Regions from separate parts of the Homo sapiens genome. Here region 1 is linked to region 2. The links are contacts of gene promoters, found by promoter capture Hi-C in human tissues and cell types (Jung and others, 2019). All regions are on one chromosome and are shown on one strand. Each heading gives the region's core, a stretch centred on a gene start or on the middle of the fragment in contact. The rest is flanking DNA. Distances are from core to core; before and after follow the strand shown.

The links. The method cuts DNA at HindIII sites, captures the fragments that hold promoters and counts their contacts. A contact is called where the count stands out against the background at its distance.
Region 1: a contact is called between a fragment that was not itself captured here and the fragment with the promoter of FUBP3 in region 2, in 2 of the 25 tissues and cell types used here (bladder and hippocampus).

What each region holds. Positions count from the first base shown.
Region 1 is chr9:130,847,815-130,851,125 of GRCh38, forward strand. All of the region lies in intron 1 of ABL1 (ABL proto-oncogene 1, non-receptor tyrosine kinase), which reads left to right. Among named protein-coding and RNA genes, the nearest start is that of ABL1, 14 kb to the left of the region's middle. RefSeq lists an enhancer at 1-256 and a silencer at 1-142. The HindIII fragment of the contact is 3,204 bases long and covers 1-3,000 here.
Region 2 is chr9:130,578,136-130,581,533 of GRCh38, forward strand. FUBP3 (far upstream element binding protein 3) reads left to right here and starts at 1,442. Exons shown (of 19, transcript NM_003934.2): 1 at 1,442-1,629. The coding sequence starts at 1,546. LOC100272217 (a long non-coding RNA gene) reads right to left here and starts at 1,359. Exons shown (of 1, transcript NR_027440.1): 1 at 1-1,359. It overlaps LOC124902286 (a long non-coding RNA gene), which reads left to right and starts at 1,705. Exons shown (of 2, transcript XR_007061818.1): 1 at 1,705-2,113; 2 at 2,524-3,398. RefSeq lists a silencer at 1,390-1,759. The HindIII fragment of the contact is 10,079 bases long and covers 1-2,893 here.

The DNA.
Region 1 (3,311 bases), core at 149-2,648, 270 kb after region 2:
CCTCATCCTCTTGCATAACATTCCCAGCATCTGTCGACATGTTCGGGACCATCCCACTTTAACCCACACTTCAAGTGGATGGCCACCTCTGGGCGGGGATCTGCATTCTGCTTATTCCAGGTGTTTTCCAGGCCACTTCCCCGATTATGTAACTTTGATCAAATCCAGATGCGGCAGAATGTTTGATAGAAGAGGTCAAATGGCATTTGAGAAGAAAAGCATTTCTGTATTCATGACTTTGGTTTAATTTCCTGTGTGGGCCTGGTCTGCCAAAGTTGTATGCTCATGGCCACGAGGTTGACGCACCAGAGGGAGGCACTCAAGTGCCTTTTCAGGACAGCCTGAAGGAAGCCTCCCTCCCCAGCATGCTTTTTCATGTTAAATTATCAATTATGTAAGTTTAGGGCCAGGCGCGGTGGCTCCTGCCTGTAATCCCAGCACTTTGGGAGGCTGAGGTGAGTAGATCACTTGAGACCAGGAGTTCAAGACCAGCCTGGCCAACATGGCAAAACCCCGTCTCTACTGAAAATGAAAAAAAAAAAAAAAAAAAAAACTTAGCCAGGCGCAGTGGCTCACATCTGTAATCCCAGCTACTCAGGAGGCTGAGGCAGGAGAATCACGTGAACCTGGGAGCTGGAGGTTGCAGTGAGCCTAGATCGCACCACTGCACTTCAGCCTGGGCGATGGAGTGAGACTCCAACTCAAAAAAAAAAAAAAAAAAATTTCAATTGGCTTCTATTAAAGCTTTTTTATGTTTGTCATTGTTTTCTAGTAATAACAACAATCCACATTTTTTGTGAGAAATATACCATAATATAGAGAAGTATAAAGAAAATGTAAGGCCAGACACGGTGGCTCACGCCGATAATCCCAGCACTTTGGGAGGCTGAGGCAGGCTTATCACCTGAGGTCAGGAGTTCGAAACCAGCCTGGCCAACATGGTGAAACCCCATCTCTACTAAAAATACAAAAAAAGTAGCCGAGTGTGGTGGCGGGCACCTGTAATCCCAGCTACTCAGGAGGCTGAGGCAGGAGAATTGCTTGAACCCGGAAGGTGAAGGTTGCAGTGAGCAGAGATCACGCCATTGCACTCCAGCCTGAGTGTCAAGAACGAGACTCCGTCTCGAGAAAAAAAAAAAAGAAAAGTAAATTTAAAGCACTTAAAATCCCACCACCCTGAGTTAACTACTGTTCACAGTTTGGTGAAATTCCTCCTCGTCTTCTATTTTTTCATAGTTGGGACCATGCCTATATACTGGAATGTAATATAAACACTTAATATATTATTGCGAGTATATTCTCAAACTTAAATATTTTTTCCAAAAATATTTTGAGTGGCTTTTAAAATATATCCTATTTTATGCATGCAGCATAAACTAACTTATCCTGTGTTGATAGATATTTTGTACTTGCCCTTTTCTGTGCTGTTGTTTAAAATTAGTGTATAGAAATAATTGTGTTGATCACTTAGGATAAATTCCTAGAGGTAAATCAGATATTAAATTCTTTATAGACTTCTGGTTCATATTCCAGTTGCCCTCAATTTATACACCTACTACTAGCATTGTATGAGAGTGCCCGTTTCTCTGAAATCTTACCCACACTGGCTGTCAGCGTCAAAAAGATGTATCTGCAGATTTGGCAAGGAATTTGCATTTCAGTGATTATTATCAAGCGTTCACACACTTTCCATGTTTAATGGTAATTTTTTTTGTTTTTTTTTGAGACGATGTCTCACTCTGTTGCCCAGGCAGAGTGCAGTGCCGCGACCTTGGCTCACTGCAACCTCTGCCTCCCAGGTTCAGGTGATTCTCCTGCCTCAACTCCTTAGCAGCTTGGATTACAGGCATGCGCCACCATGCCCGGCTAATTTGTGTATTTTTAGTAGAGACGGGGTTTCACCATATTGGCCAGGTTAGTCTCAAACTCCTGACCTCAAGTGATTGCCCGCCTTGGCCTCCCGAAGTGGTGGGATTACAGGTGTGAGCCACCGCACCTGGCCTTTAATGATAATGTAAATTTTTTGTGAATTGTTTATTCGTGGCTTTGCCCCATTTTTTCCATAGTGGAGGGATTTTTCTTTTTCTTGTTGGTATGTAAAGTCCTTGTGTGTCAAGAATGCTCTGCCTCACAGTTTTTCTAATATAATGACAGTGGAAGCTCGTAACTGGCTTCCACTTGACTGACTTGCTAAATTGACCGGCACTCTTCACTTCCTTATAAAACATGCCTCCATAGTCCCTGTGCCCCATGGCACATGGGATGGGGTAGCCACACTACCACTGTCTGCTGCTGCATATGTTCCTGTCCACAAGAGCCAGTCATGTTTGTTTCCAAGCCTGGTTCTTTCAGATATAGCTGTTGTTGTAATTACTTGGTTGATATGAAACCAATGAAATGCAAGTGTGAAAAGAGAATTGTTTCTAGGAAAATTAAGATGAATGCTTTAGAAAGACTCAGTAAAGGAAGATAAATTTAACAAATTACTACAGAATTAGGTGTAAGACAACAGTAAATGATTGGAATGAATTACAGAAATCTAGAAAGCTTTGACAGTGGGAATGCGTAGTGAATGGCTCTAAGTTCTCCCTCCATCTGTAGGAAATTGAAGCTGGAAGTGAGATGATATATTCATTATAGGGAGGACTTACAGAAGAAAACATCAAGCTCTAATCACATGTCCACATTTCGTTTTGTTTACTTATTTTTTGAAATGGAGTCTCACTCTGTTGCCCAGGCTGGAGTGCAGTGGCATGATCTCAGCTTACTACAACCTCTGCCTCCTGTGTTCAAGCGATTCTCGTGCCTCAGCATCCTGAGTAGTTGGGGCTACAGGTGTGCACCACCACGCCCAACTAATTTTTATATTTTTAGTAGAGACGGGGTTTCGCTATGTTGGCCAGCATGGTCTTAAACTCCTGACCTCAGGTGATCTGCCTGCCTCGGCCTCCCAAAGTGCTGGGATAACAGGCATGAGCCACCGCACCCAGCCCCACATACCTACATTTCAAAGGACAGTCTTTGGCCCTACAGTCAAGACTACCAAACCAATGTACACTAAATGGGGGTGGGGATCACGTTGTTGTTTTTTGTTTGTTTTTGTTTGTTTGTTTGTTTGTTTGTTTTTTTGAGAGAGTCTCGCTCTGTCACCCAGGCTGGAGTATAGTGGCGTGATCTCGGCTCCCTGCAAGCTCCGCCTCCCGGGTTCACGCCATTCTCCTGCCTCAGCCTCCCGAGTAGCTGGGACTACAGGTGCCCGCCACCACGCCCAGCTAATTTTTTTGTATTTTTAGTAGAGACGGGGCTTCACC
Region 2 (3,398 bases), core at 192-2,691:
GGAAAGAAGTCATTAACAAATAAATAACTATACTTTGGTTATTGGTCAAGTATTCCTCATACTTCTTTAGAATGCCCAAAGCTCTCTTGGCATAATGACACAGTGAGGGGTGAGGGTGGGGTCATCAAGGAAAGTTATATGGGACTTTTTTCCCCAAGAAAGGGTCTTGCTCTGTCACCCACGCTGTACTGCAGTGGCGTGATCATAGCTCACTGCAGCCTTGACCTCCAGGGCTCAGGTGATCCTCCCACTCCAGCCTCCCAAGTAGCTGGGACTACAGGTGTTTGCCACCACGCCCAGCTAATTATATTTTTTGTAGAGACGGGGTCTCACTATGCTGCCTAGGCTGGTCTTGAATTTCTGGGCTCAAGAGTTCTGCCTGCCTTGGCCTCCCAAACTGCTAAGATTACAGGCGTGAGCTACCGCACCCGGCCCGTATTGGATTTTATTTATTTCCTTTTCTTGGTGCTCATCCTCCTTCACAACTTCAAGATGGGCATAAGATGTTTGACAACATGGTTCTTCATTAAGTCCAACTCCTTATCATAATAGGGCTTGGGAAATATTAAACACGAGGGCAATCGTGCTAACACAAAAATGGGCGCCCCCTAAACCTTGTTACTTGTTTGCTCACTTATAAGAAGAGCCAACTCAAAGGCTCAACTGAATTCTAGCACTAAGATTCCTTCCTTGCTGTAGAAGATCTGTACCTGGTCACTTCCATTAAAGTTACATAGGCGTTCCAAGAAGCCTCCTGCAATACAGTTGTGACTCAGCCGGTATGGGAGTAATGACGGTCCTGTGGTATTTCCTGCACCCCCAGAGTCCCAGAGTTTGTTAAGGACCGTGTAAGAGGACACCACGCTGGCTTTTCAGTGGGCGCGTCTCTCCTGGGGGCATCACCAGACAACCCCAGGCGGAAGTGGCGGTGGCCCATCCTCATGCAAACTGCAGTGTAAGAACTGGGGCCCGGGACTCCTCGCAAATGTGGGACACTGACATTCTGTGATGCTGTCCCAATGCCCTTTCAAAGCGCTCAGCCCCCAAATTCCCAACCAACAGCCATTTCAGGGAGGGGCTACCCAGGACCAGGCTTTTGATGAACCACGACTGTTCGGGGTGCCGTCTTGGGAGAGCCACGTCAGTCCCTCTGAGATTCCAAACGGCCGACAGCGGACACCTCGGGACCACATCCAAGCCTCGGGGACCTGTCAAGACGCCATCGACGGTCCTGGACCAAATCCCGCCCGGGAAGGGAAGGGTCGCGACCGGACCCTGGAGACCCACGGCTGCCTGGCGATCTGAGCCCACCCCGGCGCTGCCGTCCCGCCCCCACTTCCGATCGGTCGAAGGTCACGTGCCCTGACCCCGCCCCGCAGACGCGACTCCTCCAGCTGCGAGCGTCCCGGCTTTCCCTTCCGCCGGAAGTAGGGCGACTTTCCTTTTCCGGCTACGGGTCCCCAAGCGGAGCGGGAGGCCGGACCGGGGAGCCGAGCGGCGGCGTCGGCGGCGTCGGCGGCGGCGGCGACGGCGGCGGGGGCGGTAATGGCGGAGCTGGTGCAGGGGCAGAGCGCTCCTGTGGGGATGAAGGCCGAGGGCTTCGTGGATGCCCTGCACCGGGTCCGGCAGGTACGGGCGCAGCCGGCTGGCAGGAGCACGAGATCCCGAGGCGGGGCCTGGCGGGCGGGGAAGAGGGGTTCGGGCCTGGGGGGCGGGAGGCAGCCTGAACCGACGTCTCAGCCGGGCCGGGCCGTTCCGTGGAGTTCCTACAGCCGGGAGGAGCCGGGGGGATAAGGCGCCACTGCGAGGCCCAGGCCCGGCCTGTCGGGCGGGTCTCCCAGGTGCCTGAAGTCGCTGGGAAAGGGTTTGCTTAGAGCGTCTGGCCCCATCGTGCCCCAGCGGCCAGCCTGGACCCACAGTGTAGCTAGCGCGGGGTTCTGAACCTCGCGAGGGGAGGGGTCCGGGAAGCCCACGGGGAGGATCTGGGTGTAGACATAAAGCAGCTGTCTGACGCCCAGTAGCTTGTTAAAACTTGGGGAACATCGTCTTTAGACTTTCTGTTGAGTAGAAGGAACTCGAGGGCATCTTATATGTGAGGGTGCTCTTTGGAGAGGTGAGAGAGGGAGGTGTTACATGTGTGGGGGTGGTCCCCAAGATGTAGAAATTTCTCATGGCAAGCTTGCCTCTACTGGGGAGAATGATATGGCCTCATTCCGACATTGAAACTTTACTGTCTGACAATGTCGTGCATTTAATCAAAGTTAAATTAACTGGGTTTTAGAAGGCTCCAGGCTTCCCCAGAGAGTGAATATGGGACCTGCCAAAAATACTTACTGGCTTCTGGCATGGTACTTAGAACAGAACGTGTTCTTCATTTGTATCTAAAACTTACTTACAAGTCAGCCCTAACACTTCAGCTTCCTCGGTTAAGTGTCTTATGTCCTCCTCTCTTCTTATGTAATTGTAAGCGCACTGATACTTTAAAAGTTGGGCTATAACTAATTACTGCTTGATTCCTAACAGAAAGCCACAGGAGTCATTGTATTAGAAGAAGGTCTTCACTCGGGCGCTTGAAGATATGGTCTTTACATCTCTTTCCAGTATTCCAGGGGAGGGAACCCTACCTGTTTCCCTGATAACTGACTTTTCATGTTATATATTGATGCTCCTATAGACATTATATTGGATCCCAGAACTTTCCAAACCTGTGGTTCCACCTAAAATTTTATCTGATGAATTGTTACTTTACTGCCTAGCTGCCAACCAGTACAGTAGTGAGTATCCATCTTACTTAGACTTCAGATCCACCCATGGCTGTAATGGATGAACATGCCACCCAGCTCCCCTTCCACCACTCTGCTTGCTGGCGTGTTACAGTGCTCTCCTCTACAGTACAGGGTCCTGAACCTTGTTTCTCACTGGCTACTAATATGTAATGGCTTTCGCTCTGTGCTGATGTGTGACAGTCACCTTGTTGGCCTTCTATGTCCGGGAAGAATTATAGTCACTGCCCTAAAGGGCTCAGATCCTCAGTTTGCAGAAGGCCTGTAGTTGAACATAAAGTGAATTTTGAACCATTGAGAAGACATTCCGCTTCTCTTGAGCCAGTGGTTGAACTCATATTCTTGGACAACCTGCTCCAGAGGGAGACCCTCTGGTAAATGCTGACCTAATGTGGATTGTTGAAGCAGTGGTGTTTACTACTAGCAGTGAAAACTTCATTGGAATTGTTCTCAGCTCTGAAATGCACCATTGACTGGAGCAGTAATAAGCCCAATGGAGACAGGGCTGTAAGTGTGTTCCTTCTGAATGTTAACAGCTGGAGGTCCATACTATCTCCAAGGATTTGATGGCCTTTAAAAACTAAAGAAAAACCAGGTTGGTGGGTAATTTTAGGT